Linked DNA regions of Homo sapiens: all the other regions are linked to region 1. Evidence: promoter capture Hi-C in human tissues and cell types (Jung and others, 2019). All regions are on one chromosome and are shown on one strand. Each heading gives the region's core, a stretch centred on a gene start or on the middle of the fragment in contact. The rest is flanking DNA. Distances are from core to core; before and after follow the strand shown.

Evidence for each region. Contacts are between HindIII fragments. The study calls those that stand out against the background at their distance.
Region 2: a fragment that was not itself captured here is called in contact with the fragment with the promoter of OSR1 in region 1 in 1 of the 25 tissues and cell types used here (neural progenitor cells).
Region 3: a fragment that was not itself captured here is called in contact with the fragment with the promoter of OSR1 in region 1 in 1 of the 25 tissues and cell types used here (hippocampus).
Region 4: a fragment that was not itself captured here is called in contact with the fragment with the promoter of OSR1 in region 1 in 2 of the 25 tissues and cell types used here (aorta and hippocampus).
Region 5: a contact is called between a fragment that was not itself captured here and the fragment with the promoter of OSR1 in region 1, in 1 of the 25 tissues and cell types used here (H1 embryonic stem cells).
Region 6: a fragment that was not itself captured here is called in contact with the fragment with the promoter of OSR1 in region 1 in 1 of the 25 tissues and cell types used here (H1 embryonic stem cells).
Region 7: a contact is called between a fragment that was not itself captured here and the fragment with the promoter of OSR1 in region 1, in 1 of the 25 tissues and cell types used here (H1 embryonic stem cells).

Annotation. Positions count from the first base shown.
Region 1 is chr2:19,357,251-19,359,950 of GRCh38, forward strand. It overlaps OSR1 (odd-skipped related transcription factor 1), which reads right to left and starts at 1,373. Exons shown (of 3, transcript NM_145260.3): 1 at 1,091-1,373. RefSeq lists enhancers at 1-51, 717-1,245. The HindIII fragment of the contact is 12,145 bases long and covers 1-2,700 here.
Region 2 is chr2:19,693,744-19,696,443 of GRCh38, forward strand. The region is part of intron 1 of LOC124905977; the gene reads right to left. Among named protein-coding and RNA genes, the nearest start is that of LINC00954, 170 kb to the right of the region's middle. The HindIII fragment of the contact is 8,525 bases long and covers 1-2,700 here.
Region 3 is chr2:19,096,790-19,099,489 of GRCh38, forward strand. It overlaps LOC124907738 (a long non-coding RNA gene), which reads left to right and starts at 37. Exons shown (of 2, transcript XR_007086235.1): 1 at 37-1,033. The HindIII fragment of the contact is 3,551 bases long and covers 1-2,700 here.
Region 4 is chr2:19,077,174-19,079,873 of GRCh38, forward strand. All of the region lies in intron 5 of LOC105373456 (a long non-coding RNA gene), which reads left to right. LOC124907739 (a long non-coding RNA gene) reads left to right here. Exons shown (of 2, transcript XR_007086236.1): 2 at 1-2,700. Among named protein-coding and RNA genes, the nearest start is that of LINC01376, 52 kb to the left of the region's middle. RefSeq lists a silencer at 1,475-1,769. The HindIII fragment of the contact is 4,532 bases long and covers 1-2,700 here.
Region 5 is chr2:19,762,241-19,764,940 of GRCh38, forward strand. No RefSeq gene overlaps it. Among named protein-coding and RNA genes, the nearest start is that of LINC00954, 110 kb to the right of the region's middle. The HindIII fragment of the contact is 9,190 bases long and covers 1-2,700 here.
Region 6 is chr2:19,633,347-19,636,046 of GRCh38, forward strand. All of the region lies in intron 3 of LOC124905977, which reads right to left. Among named protein-coding and RNA genes, the nearest start is that of LINC01808, 170 kb to the left of the region's middle. The HindIII fragment of the contact is 6,142 bases long and covers 1-2,700 here.
Region 7 is chr2:19,027,309-19,030,008 of GRCh38, forward strand. All of the region lies in intron 5 of LOC105373456 (a long non-coding RNA gene), which reads left to right. Among named protein-coding and RNA genes, the nearest start is that of LINC01376, 1.7 kb to the left of the region's middle. The HindIII fragment of the contact is 6,450 bases long and covers 1-2,700 here.

The sequences.
Region 1 (2,700 bases), core at 123-2,622:
CTTCTCTTCCCTAGGGGGTTGTGAACCTGGGACACCTAGCCTTGCACGTGGTTTTGTTCCGCAGAGCCAATGCGCAGCTCTTAGCCTGGGTGAAATTTACCAAATTGTGGCAACAAAGAAACCCTTGCGGCTACTTTACACATTGAGAACCCAACCCGCTACTGCCTGAGCTGCTGAAAAAGGACTAAACGTGGTTTTTCATTCTTCTCCGAGACATTTCCGAGGAGAAATTAGTTCAGCAGGCAGCCCTTCACCCCTTTCCCCCTTCTTTCTCTCCTGACGGCTGGATTAGCGGACAGTCAGGGGAGTAACAGAACTTTTCCTGTCCCCAGCCCGGAGACCCTAGGGCTCCACAGAGTTTCCACTAGTGCTGTGTGTGGGTCTCGAATTGGAAAGCAGTGCTTGCGCCCACTGCATTGCCTCCCTGCACCAGGACAATCAAGGGTTCCGCTCCAGGCCTTGACGACACAGAGCAATCATCCTATGGAGAATATCCCTAAGTTAGAGCGCGAGTGCAAGGCGGGGTTCAGACTCGCAGCCCTGCGCTCTCGGGTCTAGGCGGCCTCATACTAGAGCGCAACTCCTCAAAAGACAAACTTGAACGAAAGCGCTACCGAGCTGGGGCATGCACCTGTCCCTGGCGCGGTCGGCTGCGGCTGTGGCCATTCACTCCCTCTCCCTTCCTTCTTCGTCAACCTGGGCGTCAGCCAGAGCTAGGAGCGCGTCTCAGGAAAGTTTGTGCCCGCTGAAGTTGCTCTGGTTTCTTAAAGGGGGCCCACAGATTGACTTTCAAAGTCCGTGGGCACCTCGCCCGTGATTCCGCAGAGCCGGGCGGGCTGGCCGCAGTAGCGGAGGCCCGCCCCCCTTAATCCCCAGCGGTCAGAGGCCGAGGACCCCGCGCAGGAAGTCCTGAGGCAGCACCCCCAACCACCCTGCTCTCACTTTCACAAAAGTCCTACAGCATTCGTTTGGCAAGAGCTTCCTTCAGGGGCATTGAGAGAGAGGAGGCACCCGCCGAGCAGTGACAAGGAACCTGGGAGTCCTGCCCGCATTCGCTTTGCTGAGCCCAGGCGCCCAGGACTGCAATTACCTTGTTCCGCAGAGGTCCTGGGGCTGAGCACGTCTCTGGGGCTTTAGCTGAAGGGGACTGGGGAAGCCGGAGGCCCTGGAGCCCACAGGCGCCCCTGGAGCTCTAGTGTCCCGACTCCTCTCCTGCCGCGGGGACTCCAAGCGCCGGACACGCGGGAGCGAGCGCTCAGCAGCCCCGGATCCTGCACGCCGGGGACGGTGAGCCTCGCTCGCGGCTCCCTCGCTGGGTCTGAACCAGGAGCAGCTGAGAACGTGCCGGGGAGAGGCCGAGCTCCGACTCACTCATCCCTTAGCACCGAGCCGCCTACTTATTTTAATCCACCACCCTCCCTCCTCCACCACCCCCACCCCCGCCCCTTGCCTCAGGATTCCTCCCCTCCCTCCCCTGCCCCCCAACCCTGCCCTGCGCCTGCGCAATGAAAGACAAAGTTTTTGCTGACCCGGGCAGCAGACTTTGGCAGCTGCTCTCGCTTGGACCCGGCCTCTCCCAACCTGCGTCCCCTCCTCTTCAGTCCCGCGCGACCCCTGCTGCCTTTTTAGGTCCAGAGCGGCACGCCTGGCGCACTGGAGGAAACGGTCCCTAGCAGATGAGAGCGGGCTGGCACCGCACGTTTCGAGGTCCTATACTTGGGCTCCTAGGACACAGCCCGTGCTCTTTGGGAGGAGGGAGGGAGGGGCAGTAGCTCTGTGCACCGGGATCCCCACACCGCGGCTTGGGTTTCAACGCACTTTGGCGCCTGACAGAGTCGCATCTCCTCCCAGAATCTCTTTCCAGAGGCGGCAGACCCCGAGTGTGGAGCAGCTCCTGGCTATCCAAGCGTGCTCGGGGCCAGGGTGTTAACCCAGGCAGCGCTGGTTAATTCCTGGTGCGGGAGGGCCAGGGTCACCGAAGCAAGCGAGCTGTAACATCTGAGTGCTTATGGTTGACCCCAGACCCTAAGTTCTGGAGTCCAGTAGAAAGAACAAAGAGTAGGGAAAGGAGGTCAGGAAAGTTATTTTCCTGGGGCCCAGAACTCTCTGAGATTTCACCCCAATGCACAGTGGCACTCTCTACTTACATATTTGTTTTAGGATGGATCAGAGTTTAGAGAGCCGCACTGGCAAGCTAGACGAGCTGCAAAGTTGTCAGTTCCAGGGCCTCTGAGTCAAGGAGCTGGTTCAGGTGGAGTTTTTAATCGGAAAGGAATCAGAGTTCTGGACATTAAAAATTCTATCTTCATTGCCTAGGCATTATGGAGGGTACCATCACCCCCTTGACTACCCATCTCTGAAAGCTGACCTCCGGCTGACCCCAGCCCAATCCCTCCCTAATGCCTTTCTGGAATACCCTTCCAGGCCTTGGGTTTGGCAAGGAGGAGTCACTGGTTTCCTGGGACTTGTGTGGGTCCAGATCACACAACTGCACTCTCTGCCTTTGCCCCAGAGTTGCTGCTGAGTGACTCTTGGAGCTGGATCCTAGATTCCGTGGGTCCCTAAGTACTGTACTGCTTCTCTCCCGAGGAGCTTCTGCTATCTCCAGCTTTGGTTTGCAAAGCTAATCTGATTTTCTTGGGAGGTGAAGAAGGTTGTAATACCTGACCTAGGGAGATGGTAATGAAGACTCCCCTCCCT
Region 2 (2,700 bases), core at 86-2,585, 340 kb after region 1:
AAAGAAATTTTTGCAAACTGGAAAAGATATCAGCCTTAACATGCTTGGACATAGAGTTTTCTCATGGCTGGAGCCAGGAACGTAGGTGGCTGGGGTCCCTGGAATTTTATTTGGGTAAAGTATTTTAGGAAGGATTAAAGGAAGAACTCACAGATTTTCCAAGGAGCCCTTTATTTTGGTGATCTGCAAGATACCCTCTAGCCTCCCAGCTCCCTGACCCTCTGAGTACATTGAGAGACAATGCACTCAGATGGGACACTAGACACTGACATCTGGACGCAGGGAATGAAACCCTGGCTTCTCTCACCATGGGCCTCCACAAGACATTTTGTCTCTGAGCCTTAGTTGATTCCTCATCTATAAAATGGGCAGGGGGTGGTCCCTGATGACCTCCCTCGTAGGGTTTCTATGAGTATCCATTGGAAATGACATCTATGAAGGCTAACACAGTACTCTACCCATGGAAGTGCTCAGTCAAGGGTGGTGGCATGTTGCTGAGTGCTTGACCCCTGAGACCCAGCCCCAGTTTCTAAGGAAAGCAGAGAGAAAAATGGCCCTCTCTCTAAGCCATGGAGGTCAGCTTAGGCAAGCCCTGGGTCCCTTGTTCCAGAAAAGATTCCCAGGCGAAAATAGCTTTTGCAACATCTATATTGAACAATGGCTTTTTCCAAATAGTCACCTCATAAATGAATGGTCCAAGGACAACTAATTGAAGCCTCTATGATCTACAGCTTTTTCTGTCCACAGGCCCAGGGCAGGCAGATGCACACTGACCTCCTGGGGGCTCACAGACCATCACCAGGGCCATCTGTAGTGAGCGATCCTGGGCTATGAATGCATTTGTACAGTGCACCACCTGTGACCCCACAAATAAGAGGGCATCTCATGGCCTCACCTCCCTCTATTGCTTCCATTAGCAGCATCCTGAAAAGCCAGGCCCTAAGAATTGTTAATTCCTGGCCACGGAGGGGCTCCGAGTTGGGGTCAGGTGTCACCTTCAGGCCTGTGCACCTGCCCACACCCTCTGAGACTGAGCAACTGGCTTAGTCAGGCCCACTACAGGGGCTCCAGGAGCCTGGCCTTTTCCAGAGGGGACATGTGGGACCTCTTTCCACAGAGAGGGAGAAGGATTCCCTCACTCTCCCCTTCTTTCTGCCACATGATGAGGTAGCCCTAGGGTCAGTAAAGCCACCCACTGGCAGGGATCAGCAAAGGAGCCCTGCTGGTGGCCACCTGGGTGTGTCTTCATCCTGGCCCAGCTCATGCGAGTCTTCAAGGGGTGGCTGTGGCTCCAGAGGCAGGTCCATTCACAGGGGCCAGCTCAGGGACTGCATTTGCTGTTCCAGCTGTGAAAGCAGGAAGTGCTTTCCTGGCCTCCACTCCCACTTAGCTTTCACTGAGTACCCACTGCATGCCAGACCTGGAGCTGGGGGCTGGGGGATCAGGGCAGACAGACAAGGAAGACACTCTGGGAAACACCAGGTCTGGTGGATTATAGGTGTTAGGTTTTATATGTGGCTGTACCTGGCTGGGTTTTTTGAGTACTTATTATGTGCCAGAAACCACAGTAAGCACTTAACATGTATGGTCTCATTTAATCCTCACTATTGAACTATGAAACTGTTACTGTTTCTACACCCATTGTATAGATGAGAAAACTGAGGCAGAGACCAGTGAAGAAGTCTATCTAAGGTGACAGAGTGTGTCAGTTGCTGCTCTGGAAAGCAGATGTCAAGCAAAGTTAGAAGTGCAAGAGATTTATTGGAAAAACAACTGTGAAAGACAACAGGGAGAGGGAAAGGGAGAAGCAGGAGGACTTTCAGACATCTGCAAAAGGATTGGCAGGAGGAAGAAAGATTGGGCAGAAAGGCCTGACTTTAATGCATATCTGAAAAAATCTCATGGCCCAACAGATAGCTCCAGTGCAAAGATTGCCTGCAGAGGGTCCCACACAGAGCTGAAATACCCAGGCCCCTGGAGTGCTGCTGTGCTCAGCTGTTGGCTGGGAGAAGCCCAGGGTGAGAGCAAGCTTGGCTCAAACACTGCAGAGGATCCCAAAGATGCAGTAGCTGGAGGCCATCAGCCAACTGCCCCACTCCAAGCTCCTTGACAACATCTGTCTTGCCTGGAGGTCTGAGTCCCCCTCCTGGGAAAGTGGCACACCAAGGAGCTGTGGCTCAAACCAGGTCTTGTGCTGACTTCAGAACCCATACTCTCATTCATTATGCTAAACAGACGAATTCACGGGTGATTATGTCTCTGACTGCTCTCTCCAAAACGTATTAGTCAGTCACCTAGCTGTATGGAGCCCTCACATATGCTTCTCTCCATGCGGTGTAAAGAGAAAGCCTGATTCCTACCTATAGGAGGTTCCAGCTGAGGAAGACAAGACTGAAAAAAAAAGGCACCAAGATGAACTGATCACAGTCTCTGCCTTCACAGAGGTCACCTTCTAGATGGATCCAGGAACCAGACAATTACAAAAGAGTGAGAGAAATGTATGTAAGAGAAAGTGTAAGGAAGGATGAGCCCTATCCCACCCCTGGCAGTTATGGAAGGCTTCCTCAAGGAAGGGGCTTCTTAATGGACTCCTGGGAGGTGAGTAGCCATTAGCTAGATGAAGAGGGGTAGATGAGGATAGGAGCATGTATATGTTTCCCAGTGGGAAGTGGTGGCAGTGGGGAGGGAAGGAAAGAAAAG
Region 3 (2,700 bases), core at 59-2,558, 260 kb before region 1:
TACTTTGGGCTATTATGAATAGTGTTGCTGTGGGTATGCATGTACAAGTGGAATTGCTGGGTCATATGACAATCCTTTGTTTAACTTTTTAAGTAACTGCTAAACTGTTTTCCTGGGGTATGGAACTTTAAGATGGGCTTCATGGTCCCTGTCTCCTGGTATTCATGTACCCCCTCTCCTTGAGTATAGGCAGAAACTGTGACCTGCTTCTGACCAATTGCAAAGGCAATGAAGTGTCACTCTCTTCAGCATGTGAGATAACATAAAACTGTGTCTAACTAGTCAATTCACTCTAGACATTCTCTCTCTCTCTCTCTCTCTTTCTCTCTCTCTCTCCATTGCTTATTTTGAAGTAGCAAGCTGCCATAGTCAATAACTACAAGGAAATACATTCTGGCAACTACTTGAGTGATCTTGGAAGCAGTTTCTTCCACTGTTGAGCCTATAGATGAGGACACAGCTTGACTAACACCTGGAATGTAGTCTCATGAGACCCTCAGCAGAGGATTGAATAAGCTATATCAGTACTCTGATCCACAGAAACTGTGAGATAATAACCACATATCATTTCAAGTCTCCAAATTTGTATAATTTGTTACCCAGCATAGAAAACTAATGTAGCATGCTAGCAATTGTTTTTATTCAAATAGTATTTTCTGACACAGGTGATTTCATATTCTTTGATTTTTTTCTTTAGCATTTTATAAATGATTTTATGTTATGGTCTTATGAAGGTTGAAATCGTCTCCAAAGCTGCATTTCTTATGAGAAATATAGCTGCCATCTGCATTTTGTTCTTAATTTTATGGAAAATGGCTTTAACATTTCAATATTTGATATGTTATAACTAACTATATATAACTATTAACAAATTTTGTCTATAACTAATCTTCATTTTTTATTTCCACTTTTGTTAGGGTTCTTGTTAGGAATTGCTGGTCCCCCTAAATCTTAACAATGACATTTCTGTACCTATCTACATGATCGCCTGCAGTTTTTTCCTTCTGATTTGTTTGCACAAAGAATTATGCAGGTAGGTGTCTTGATGTTGAATATTTATACATTTTTTAAGATGAACTCCACTTTGACATGGTGCAAAATGCTTTCGATTCACAGCTGCCATTTTTTTTTTTCCTGGAACTCATCAAAATCTGGACAGAGATTTAAATGATGGAAACTTGAGCATGCCTTCCTGATTTCCTTTCTCTCCCACCATCCTCTCTGGAAGGTGTAAACATGACTGAAGCTACAGGTTGTCAATTCTCCTAGAATATGACCAGGCCAAATGGGTCCTATTGCCTCTGCACTGACTCTATTAGGCTGAGACTAGCTGTGGAGAGGCCTTCAGTTAGTGCCCCAGCAGCAGAGTCAGGTTGTCTGGCATGCTCACAGCTGGCTCACGGGAGGAGACATGGCTGTGCCTTCCACCCTTCTCTTGCTCCCTACTCTTTCACAGACCTTCCAACCTGATGGTGCCTTTGCTGAAATTAATTATAGAGAAAAATGAGCAAGCAAAAAAATTTATAACAACATATTTAAGGATTTTCAGGGATAAGGATGTGCCTTTAGAAGAGATGACTTCTACTGACATTGAATAGATGCAAGAGTTCAAAAAGAACTTTAAAAATAAGATATACTCTGAAAGCAAGTCATTTAGAGACCAAGCAAAAAGACTTTCTAGAAATAAAAATATATGATTTATAAATTTTAATAAACTGAAAAGGGTATAGGTGTAGCTAAATACCAATTTAGATCTTAAAAATCCAATGGACAAATGAGTTTGCAACACAGAACAAACACACAGAGTTTGAATCCCTAATTCAATGTGCTAAGAACTAAGCCTCTTCATTTTATTGTTGTCCGCAAACTTGAATCAACAGTGACTAAACTTCACAATCCCATGTTATGATTCAAAAAATGTCAAACCCCAAGTAAAATTCTTGAGGTAAATTCCAGTTTCAGATGCCTAATGAGGTATTCATAAATTAAAGATTTTAATCAAATATTTTATTTTATGATCCCCTCAGTGTGATACAAAGGAACCCCAAAAAAACATTGAACTATGAATTCATAGTTTGTTATTGTTAGTATTAGTGGTGGTGGTGGTGGTGTGTGTGTTTCCCTGTATTTTAGATGTCTCCTGTCTCAGAGAAACGACAGCTGTCTTCTCCAAAGATTGTTTAAGCACAAACAGGACATTTTGCTCATTCATTGTTGTTTGTCACACAAAGAAGTTGCTTTTGTATTTTGTGGTACTGCACTATTAAGGCTGAATTTCTTTTCAAATAAAAATCTGACTCAAGGGAGTGAACAGCTCCATGCTCTAAGCAGGGTTAACCACTGTTTTCAAAAGCTCTGGCAGGGAGATGGAAGCTTGGAGGTAAATTGAAAGATATAGTTTACCAAATGCTTGGGCAAACCTCACTGAGAAGGACATAAATGGATGGTAGCTCCAGGAGTTGTAAGCAGAAGAGGCAGTAGTGACATTGGGGTTGGTCTTTTCACTGCATCAAAGTGCACCCATCTCTCTCCAGTAAGTCTGGGATACAGCTGGCCAGAGGCACATTAAGATCACGTGCAAAAGCAGAAAAACAGGAACTGAAAACCAAGTTCAACAAAAGAGGGAGAAATAAATGAAGGAACCAGGACTGAGTACCACGTTTGGCTCTGAGATTTACTAGAAGGTAACCTCAGAAAGAA
Region 4 (2,700 bases), core at 164-2,663, 280 kb before region 1:
AGGAAGTTAATGCCACTACAGATGCTGGGAAGGAAAAGGTTGTAGGGGAGTTGGTAAATGTGGAAGAGTCACATGTCAGATTAAAACAGGTCACAATGATGAGCTCTGACTGCTCTGAAAGGCAACAATGTCCGTCCAGCTAAGGTGGGGGAGAAATAGGGACCTGGCAATGCCACCATCCTTCTGTCAGGATAGGGGTGTAGGGTTGCTGTCACATCGGAAGTGAGGGCAGCCTGAAGGTTGGGGTTAGCATTCAACAAGAGGATTGAAAGGACACTTTAAAATCTAGATAGCGTATCTAAAGGATGCCTGAGGAGAATTCCAGTCTTTTATAGAGGGATAGGGAGATTGAATATGTTTTGCTTTTGAAAGCTTTATATTTGCAACTTTGTAGTTCTTTCTGCCATATATTTGAGGTGAAATGGGTATTAAATTGCAAAAGCAACACAGTCCATGCCTATTTTTTTACACACAAATACTCTTAGAGTAAATTCTGTCTCAGTAAGCACCTAGCACATAGAAGGGTGTTTGGATAATGCCTTTATCCAGTTTATCACTAAACTGGTAGTTCTGGTGAAGTAGAATGTCTTTATCCAGTTGCACAGAACTAGTATCTCCTCTATCCCATTAAAGAGAAAATTGATTTATTAACTGTTGATATTTACACTTGGGGAATTCATCAGGCTACTTGATCAGTAGAACCAGGAATCCTGCATAGATTGCTGTGGTATAAGGAGAAGATACCAATAGGAAATAGGTGAGGGTATAGAGTTGAGTGGTTTTGTTGTGCATGAAATGTTAATGCTTGTTCATCACGAAGAATATCTTATTTCTGAAACCAAGTATGACCACACTCTGTCACTCTCAAGTGTCTAAGGAATATATTTCCACTTTTGTTGTCCCTATAAGAATGTTTTGCTGGGGTCCTGCAAACTTACTGCCAGTCAGAAGGCAGGCTGCAGGCTGGGCATGGTGGCTTTCACCTGTAATCCCAGTACTTTGGGAGGCCGAGGCAGGCGGATCACCTAAGGTCAGGAGTTCGAGACCAGCCTGGTCAACATGGCGAAACTCTGTCTCTACTAAAAATACAAAAATTGGCCAGGCATGGTGGCAGGCACCTGTAATCCCAGCTACTCGGGAGGCTGAGGCAGGAGAACCCAGGAGGTGGAGTTGCAGTGAGCAGAGATCATGCTGCTGCATTCCAGCTTGGGCGACAGAGTGAGACTCTGTCTCAAAAAACAAACAAACAAAAACAAAAAAAAGGCAGTCTGCAAATGCAGATATTGCATATTGTTCTTATATGACTATGCAGAGAAAGGCTCTCAGAAACTCCATTACATAAGAGTAATTGGCTGAGAAATCCAGATTAGCCACCTGATTTTATCTGCTGAGGTGCTGGAAATGATGGGATTTTCATATTTTTTAAAGTCTTCGAAGCATTTTGTGTTTCGTTTCATTTATTAAAGTAAGTAAATAGCCTCATCAGATAGTTTATACATCTCTTTGGATAGGTCATACAAATGTGTTCTACAAGAGCTTACATGTGAGTAAATTTAATGTTTAAAGTGTAAATATATAGATAGGGCTCACAAAGTAGTTTTCATAAAATAGTCCCTAGGGCACTGATAGCTGCTAAGATTGCTGTTTTAGAAGCCTTGCTCTGTTTGTAAATGAGAGACATTGTCTTATGTGAATAGTGAGAATGATACAAAGTCCTGGTTGTGCAAGTGTCTCTATGAAGGGAGCAGCTGGCCCTTCCTACAGAAGTTCCTTCTGTAGCCTGAGTCACACAGTCAGCACTTGTGGCTCTATTGGCTGCCTTTATCTTCTGCATAATGGATATGAAGGTTGCATTCATAGTATTAATGAGTAGTGACTCCAGTGGCCATGGCTGGCACCAAAAATAGCATGTTGATCATTACCTTTGGTCTTAAAGAATGAGTAGCACAGAATGCCTGTGTCCCACCCTATATGAGGCCTTTTCTCCCCTGCAGAGCAAACTGGCATCTTTCTTTGGCTTCTTTCAGAGAACGGGTTTCCAAGCCAGCCATGAGTAGCCTCTGGAGCTTTTTCTGAGCCAGCTCCTGGTGGGGCATTGGGCTGTGGTCTATTCTAAAGAGAGTAGTTGGCATACACAAAGAATGAGTTTATTTGTAAACCACAATCACATAAACGTGAAGGAACACACAATGTCTGCCAGCAATGTCTTTGACCTGTGTGTGGAATACACTAGCAAGCAGTGGAATAAACTAGAACCATTGGTGTCAGAGCTGGAAGGGCCTTCAGCGTCATAAGGGCCAAGTCCACAATGATGACCAAGAATAAGCAACCTCCCCAAGGCCATTCCACCATTAAGTGAAAGATCTGGTCACTTCTAACTCCAGTCCAGGTGGCTTTCTATTGAACCAAAGACCCTCAGTTCCCTGACTTATAAGAGAGAACAATACCTGTCCCGCAGGATGCCCATAATGACTAAGTGGGTTAACATCTATGCAAGTACCTCACACAAAAATAGGCCCCAATTAAATGTTTAATAATATTTTTCTTATCAGATTAAAACCCTGGAGCTTACTTCACTCACCATTGTCCATTTTCACCATGATCAGTGCTGATGCTACACTCTTTCCATCTATGCAAAACCTGTTGTGATGCTGGACACATCACAGGTATGAGTTTCTGCCCCAGGGCTCATTGATGGCA
Region 5 (2,700 bases), core at 147-2,646, 410 kb after region 1:
CTCTAGCTGTAAGGACTGCATAGTTTAGCACCTTATCTCTAAAGCATTTTATGCACCAAATTCCTGTTAGCTAACTGAGGTGTGTGTGGGTGTGTGTGTGGATGTGGATGTGTGTGGCTGGCTGGCCTTCCACACTAAACTGGCAAGGACTATCTCATACTCATCTGAGTCATTTCCCCAGTATGTGTGCATGTGTGGCCCTTAACAGGGGTCCACATAGAAAGGGCATCTAAATAAACCTTTGGAGCGGGGGAAACTAGGAAACTTCATAAAGGGTATGTTGCCTGAGTTAAATCTCAAAAGATGAAAAGACATTAGCCAAACAAGGTAATAGCACATGAAAAGGCCAGGAAGCTCAGAGCATCTCAAGAGCTGATGCTCAGTAAGGGTGGGCAGTGAGGGCCAAGCCTCAACAGGGTAGGCTGATGGTGGAGAAGAGTGGAGACCCACAGATGGGCAGGTGCAGGAGGACAAGGGCTACAGCTGCCACTGACGAAGAATCGAGGAAGAATCTGAAAAACACGTGATCTTCAGCATAGGCTACAGCCTTTTTACATTCTAAATCCTGTTATTCTGCTCCTCTTTGTCCCCATGGTGGTAACTCAGAAAGCACCTCAATACCACCCCAAGCTTCTCACATCCGGCATCCAGCCCAGACATACGAATTAGACCAGCAGAGGCCCAGGGCAGAGGTGGGTGCCCAGGCTGACCAGTGGGCACCCCCTTCTTGAGTGTACTCTGTATCCCTGACAGCCAGAAGACAGCCCCACATTACTTCAGCCCCTGCCTTCTTTGTGTTCCATATTCCTATTTTCTTGACACAAACCATACAAAGTTTCAACACTTGGAGACTGCAAAGTAAACCATTTGTACATACCAGGTCTGGTAACACTTTAAATAATAGGCCAGTTAGTTAATGCTGCACTACAATAAAAATTCCTGTCCAAGTACACATTATGTCCTCATTAATGCCAAGTGAGTTCAGAGTGATTAATGTTATGACAATAAATAACTGGGAAATCATTATGACCACCAGGCTGCAGCACACAGTGGGGCCCAGAGCAGCCTAGGCTTCTGCTACTCTCTGAACACACTAGGGTGCTGCCTGCCCCTCCATCAGGCACACTCAAGCCCCTCCACACCACAGCTCCAGTGAGCATGGGGCTGTGCCAGAGAGCTGAGGCTGGTGAGCCCTACTCATGAGGCCAATCTTGAGTCACCTGGGAAGAGAGGACAAGATTATCAGAACCTGCCCTCTCCTCCAGTGGAAAGAGAGCATGTGTTGGAAGCTGGAAACGAGGCCCTCAAGTCCATGGGCAGAACAGCTCTCATCAACCTCCTGGTAGAGACCCAGGCAGGGAAAGCTGGGCCAGCTCTAGCTGCATTGGGCACCATCAGGAGGGGCTCAGGGAAGTGGGTAGGTCTCTCATGAGGGACAGTGGAGGGTGTGGTCAGGGAAAAAGGGACTCACTGCCCAAGAAGTTCAGATACAGACAGAGGCCCCTGTCTTCAGGAAGTTTCTCTCAGGGCAGTAAATGAAAACCAGCTTTGTGGTTGGTCAAAGAAATAGGGCAGCTGTGCTCTTTCTCAGCATCTCTAAGCCATGTGGGGGCTGGTCCCTGGGATAGGAGACTGGTCCATGGGTAGTATCTTTGAAGCTGGAGATGCCAGGCTAGCAAATAAAATGCTGACAACAGGGAATGAGAACCAGATTAGAAAAAAAAATAACTTTACAAACCATGGAAACTGGCATCTCAGCCTTTAGGGTATAGAGAAGGCTTGATCACCCAAAGAGCAACTTCAGCTCCTCCCCAGCTCATCCCACAAAGCCCACTTTGCACCCATTGCCCAAATGGCTGTGGACTCTGTCTTGGCCTATGGGAGGCCTTAGGCTATTGGCATATGCCAGATCTTATATGAGTGCTTGTTTTTGGCCTTTGTCCTTCTCAGTTTCTCTGAAGCAGGTTTGATCTGGCCTGCTATGAGCCCCTCTAGCCTTTGGGGATTTTGTGAGCAGCACAGTACCTGAAATATAGTAGATATTCAGCACAGGATGGAATCGGGCTCTGGGTGGAAGGCCAGAACTCCCCAGCCTGTCTTTCATTGAATGGACCACTACCTCCAACATTGCTGGCCCTCTATTCACCCCTGCCCAGTATCTTCTCAAAGCACAGCCCCTCAGGAGTGGGCATCTAGGCTAAGACTGGAGCCCCAGATGGACATGGGGGTGAGGAAGGGTGGGCTTACTCCAAAGTAGGAAAGTCCAGCTCAGAGTTTCCACTCAGTCATCAAAAGTCAACCCTATTGATTAATGAAGATGCTGGGTTGACCAAGAAATGAGGACAGAAGTGGCTAGAAGTCAGTGTTGACTTTTCAAACAACCATAAATTCCATAAGAGTGACAAAAGAACCTGCTCTGTAATCTTGCTCATTATTTACACTAAAACCTAATTAAAGTCATTATGTTTTTTGTTCATTAAACAAACTTACTATTACAGACACCAAGCCAGCACAAGGGCTGCTGGGCTCACTCTGGAAGCCAAGAGCCTCAGGCTCAACCAGAGCCCAACATCCAACCATCTTTTGAGTCAAACTTTCTCTGGAAAGAAAGACTGCAGAGAAACAGAATAGGACAAGAAGCTGGGACAAGAAAAGTATCACAAAACTCCCCTGAAGTACATGTCTTCTCTGTTCTGCCTC
Region 6 (2,700 bases), core at 11-2,510, 280 kb after region 1:
CCCCCCAAGCTCCCCCCATGGACGCAGGACCTCCAAAAGACCCCTTTATGAAAAAAAAATGTGCAAATCCAGAGCTCATAAATGTTAAATAACTCCTAAAAGATACAAAACCATGATGAGCTTGACAACAATAAAATGCCCCAAAAGAGATGGAGCAAAAACCAATTAACTAATAAAATGAATGCCTGAGAAACTTAAGCAAGATTGTTGAAAGCTGATTTGTTCAGCTTTGGGAACATTCAGGTAGCCTGATAAAGCTCTCCTTCTCCTGGTCCAGCCACCAGAAGGACCAAAGGAATTCTTCCTCTTTTTGGTCAAGGCTCTCAAGAAAAATTTCACAGTAAAGACGTCTCTCCTTTCTCAGAAAAGGGAAAGGGAGTAGGCAGCACTTTTTAATTCTATCCAGCATCCCTTCCCTCCTCCTGAGCTCTTCCTTGTTCTTCTTCTCCACTCCTTAAGTAAGCTCATCCTGCCACATGATTTTAATACCATCTACAGGCTGATGACAGCATTCCCAGCCCTTCTGTCTCTCCAGAATTCCAGTTGCATCTATCTAAGTACCTACTAATCTAACAGAAATCTAGACTCAGCAAATCTAACAAAGAGCTCTGGATTTGCTTTCCCTTTACCCACTTCAATCTTCCCCTTCTTGTTAAAGGACAGCACTATCCACCTAGTTGTTCAAATCATAAGCCCAGTTGTCATCATTGATGTCCTTCCCTATGTCTAATCCATTGGCCAATCCTGCCAGCCTTGCTTCCAGTCAGGTCCTGAACCCATTTCCAGTTGCAACTTGCCTGCTAGCCCAGCTGCCATCATCTTTCACTGGGACACTCACTCCTCTCCTGCATCCACTCTTGCCTCTCTACCATCTATTCCCCTCATGGCGGCCAGAATGACTTTGGAAAAACATCAGCATCCTAAAAGTACCAGCGAGTTCTCCCTGGTCATGCTCCCCCTCCAGCCTCGCTCCATCCCCCTCTCCATTACACCAAGTGGACTGCAGTCACACAGTCTTCCTCTCTCTTTCTCAAACACACAGAGCTCATTCCTGCTCCAGGGCCACTATACTAATTGCTCCCTCTGCTTGGCACACTCTTACCACAAATCTATGCATGGCTGACTCCTTCTTGGCATTTAGGTCTCCGTTTCAAGGTGGCCTACTGAGAGATGCTATCTCTGGCCACTCTGCACTCTCCCGACATCATCTTATTTTATGTTAAACATAGCACTTAACTACATTCAAAATTTTCTGTCTTTTGTTTACGCACTATGTGTCTCCTCTTGTTATCAGTGAGACATAAGTTCTATGAGGGCAGAGAGTTCTTCATGTTCTTTGGCACTGATATTAGCCCAATGCTCAGAACAGTGCCTGGTCCATAAGAGACAATTAATAAACATTCATTGAGTAAATGGATGAGCGAATAGTAAAATGTCTGCTGCTCCTTTGGGGAACTGTTGGTCCCCAAGTCCTTGTAATTATGGTGGAACTGTCAATCACAGTAACTATCAACCCTGTCCATGGCAATGGGGTCAAGATCTTAGCATGTGAATCAAGCAGGGTAGTGACAGTCCCCCTGGAGAGCTATGTACATGGACAGGGACGAAAAGAAATTTCTTTCCTCTGGGCTGAGATATTAGTTTTAATCTAAGGCCATGTCCTTCTCCCCAGTCTGCACAGACAACAATAACACCAACAATGGCAAACCTCTCATGGTGTTTACTATGGTCCAGGGACTACTCTAAAGGCTTACGCATATTCACTAATGTAAGCCTCACAACAACCCATGGGAGGATTCCCACTATTATGGTGGTTTTTTAGATGATAAGACTAAGGCCCAGGGAGGCTAGTTAACTTGTTCATGGTCACTCAGCAGTCTGGCTGCAGAGCTATGCACTGTGTTCTACCACCTCCCATCAGCAGAGAAGAAAGACCAACGCAGGAGGAGAGCAGAGCCATGAAACACAAGACAGGGCCCTGGAGCCTGACTTGATACCCAGATCCAGTTGTCTGTGGCTTATTTCACCTCTGGATTTCCTAGTCACAGGAGTGGTCCTGTGGTCCAGGAACTACTCTAAAATGAAGCACCAGAGAACTGGCCGTACATCGTGTGTTTGCATTTACATGTTGCAAAGAGAAATTAAGCCTTTTGCTTTCAAATTGAAAAATCACTTGGATTGTCAATCAATCAAATGAGAATTAAATATCTGTTGTATATCTTGCGTGTTCTAAGTTCTGTAAGTTCTAAGTTCTGTAAAGCACGCAGAGATACTTAAGACATAATGTCAAGCACACTTCCATGATACAACGTTGCTTGAATCTCCTCCTCAGCCAATCTCCTTCTGAAAGGACAAAACCAGTGTGAAGAGATTGAGTCTATGCTAGAGATGGGAGCCACCACCTACCTGAAGCTTGAGGCATTTACACAGGGAGCTGTGCAGGCGAGAGGAGAGCAAGGGCACTGGGGAAGTGCCTGCTGTTGACGCCCACCCATCCCCCAGGTGCAGAGATCTATGATGGAGCAGGTAGGATGCCACACTGCCTCTGCTCCCTCCCAGCCCCTTGGCTCCCTAATGTCCCTTGGATCAGAACAAGGACTAGAGATGCAAAGAGGCCTCTGAGCAGCTGGTGGGGAGGTGGACACTCCTCCAGCTATGGCCACTCAGGCTCCCTGCACAGCGTGCTATATGTAGAGCGGG
Region 7 (2,700 bases), core at 138-2,637, 330 kb before region 1:
GAAGAGTGATATACCAATTACCTTTGAGAGACTTTGTTTTTCTTCCTGGAAGAGAGCTAAACCAGGACTGAAGTTTATGTCAAGGAATCCATTTGGTTATCAAATCTGTGATCATGCGCTCTTATTAAACTAAACCAAATTAAGTTAATATTTGTTGAAAAATAAATGATGTAATTCGTGAAGAACTCTGTTTTACTCCCAGGATGGTGGCCTGTTTCTTCAAAGTAGCCTGTGAGAAAACAAAGTCTGAAATAGTTCTTTAAACTGAAAAGAGGAAATTGTTTTGAGTGTGACAGGTGTCTAGAGGGATCACTACCCTTGAGTGATCTTTGATCTCGGGGTTATCGTTATAAGACTAAATTATATATGCAATTTTCCTGAGACCAAATTCAATGACTGAACTCTAAAATTAATCTGGATATTATTTCTTCTTGGAGTTCTAAAACAAGGCCAGGGAAGATTAGAAGCCACTCATCTGACTGAGACGCATCCTCTGACTTTTCTTGGAATGGATTCCTTATGTGGACAAAATGTGATTTGAATTGCATCTGGTTACTGTTTTTAGAAAATGTTGTTGAAATTCAAACTGAGCCTGTGTACCGTGAGCTGATTTATCAGTGCCTGCCCATGTGAGAACCAGAAAGGAACTAGGAGGTGTAACTGTGGGGAGGTCGCTCTGGGGTCTTTCATCCAGGTTACCTATTAAAGGGGCAGGTCTCCAGGCCAGAAGGAGCAAATGCAGTACACTCCTAGAGGGAAAAGCCTTCTCTTGAGGCTCTGAGAACTGCTAGAGAAGAAACAACAGCAGCATGGTGGAACGAAGACAGAATTTGAAATCAAACACAGCTAAATCTTAAGCCTAACTCCACCATGTATGAGATACATGACTTTTAAAATTAAGTTTTGTAACCTCTCTGAGCCTCAGTTTTCCTACTGGCAAAATAGGAGTAATATTGCCTGCTTTGTTGCGATGTGAGAATTAACAGGGGATTTTATGCATAGTATCTGACATCTGGTAGGTCCTCAAAAATTAAAAAAAAAAATAGTACATCTGCAATCACCTTATCAGCAAATAACATATATTGAATATTTATTATGGGTCAAGCACTATACTCCTTTACCTCCTGTTGATATCTACCTGGACACCTAGCATTAGTGGATACTCAAAAATAAGTCATAAACTGACAAAATGATGGATGAGTCTCCTTTTCCTATTGACTTTCTTTGGCTATGAAAGCACAAATAGGCAAGACCAGAGGGGAAACGTCCACGTGTTCTGTTGTGGATCCCTCAGTGCACGCAAAGCTGTGGGTTTCCAGAGGAACGGTCCCCTCATCACTTCAGTTTCCTGCTCTTGGGTGGATTGCAATGCCCCGCTACTGGGGTAGTAGCCTTCATTTTGTGTACTGTGGTCTTGCTTCTTCTGAATCCAGAGGGTAAAAACTCAAACACCATCTAAAAATGTCAAGTTCTATTTTGCTTCAAGAGCTCCTGAGGGCTGGGCAGAGGTTTTGCAGTTTCACCACAGGCATTTACAAGGGCCGCACACTTTGGCAGAACTAAGTCTCCAGATAGCCTAACCTCTCCAGACCTAGAATGCAGCTGAATTTTAGGGGTCGTGAAAGGGGGGAGTTTCTGGGGGGTCCTGGAAAAGACTAAGTCAACCTTGGTTCATCATCATGCTATGCTCAACGCCCGCCCCCCGCCCCCGCCCCTCCACAGTCAGGGCTTGCTTGGTTTCTGGTTTCAAAATGAAATTTTCACATGGCCCAAATCCCAACCCACCCTAATTTAAAGAAACAGGCACTTGGCATGTGATACAGATAGATCAGCAGTTGCTCATATACAGCTGTGCACATCTGGCACACAGGTATGTGATTTTGCATGAAGATAAATTGTGTGGGGACCAAACGCACAGTTGTTAAACTAAAAATGAATCGCTTCTTGGAAGCAATCTTCCTGCACAGCAGGGCCTCTGTGTGAGCTTGATCCTTTTCATTAGGCCTTTCTCAGAAAGCGCAGTCTTCTCCAGAAGGCCTAGGATGGAGGAGGGGGCATGCCCACACCTGCAGTCGGCTCTTTGCTGCTCCCCTCAAACAACACTTGCACATAACCTCTGACTGCCATGATTGGACAGCCTTCCCAAGGGAGGTACTCAGAGCCCAGGAGAAAGGAAGAGGCCAGGTTCTTCGTTGTACTGCCTCACTTTCCATAAATAATGCTGCATTCAGGATCCTATGCTTCAGGGAGAGTTCTTTTGTATACCATTGCTGAAGGATCCAGGTGTATTACCAAACTTGGTGGACCAAGAAGTCTTCCTCCCTTGGGGGCCTCCTGGAGTCAGTGGTGTCTATCCCTGTGTGCACATCTTGCCTGTAATTCACGTACTTGTAACTCATGGGAGCACCGCATGCTCAAATGCTGTTCAGATTAGCTGGCTCCACTTGAAGATGCTTTGCTGGCACTTTGGAGGAAACAGAAAGAATGAATTCTGCTCTAGGCAATCTCTTGGATTCCATGAAGCACCATGCTGAATCAATGGGATCAATGACTAAGGCTGATACAGAATGTTCCATTCCAGGCTTAGTTTCACAATTTCAATAATAGGAAGTTGCTAGGTGTTACTAGGGGTTGGCACAAATGAATCAGTGACTTTGAAGGAGATTTTTCCCATCTGTCTTTTCGTGTGGTAATAATGTA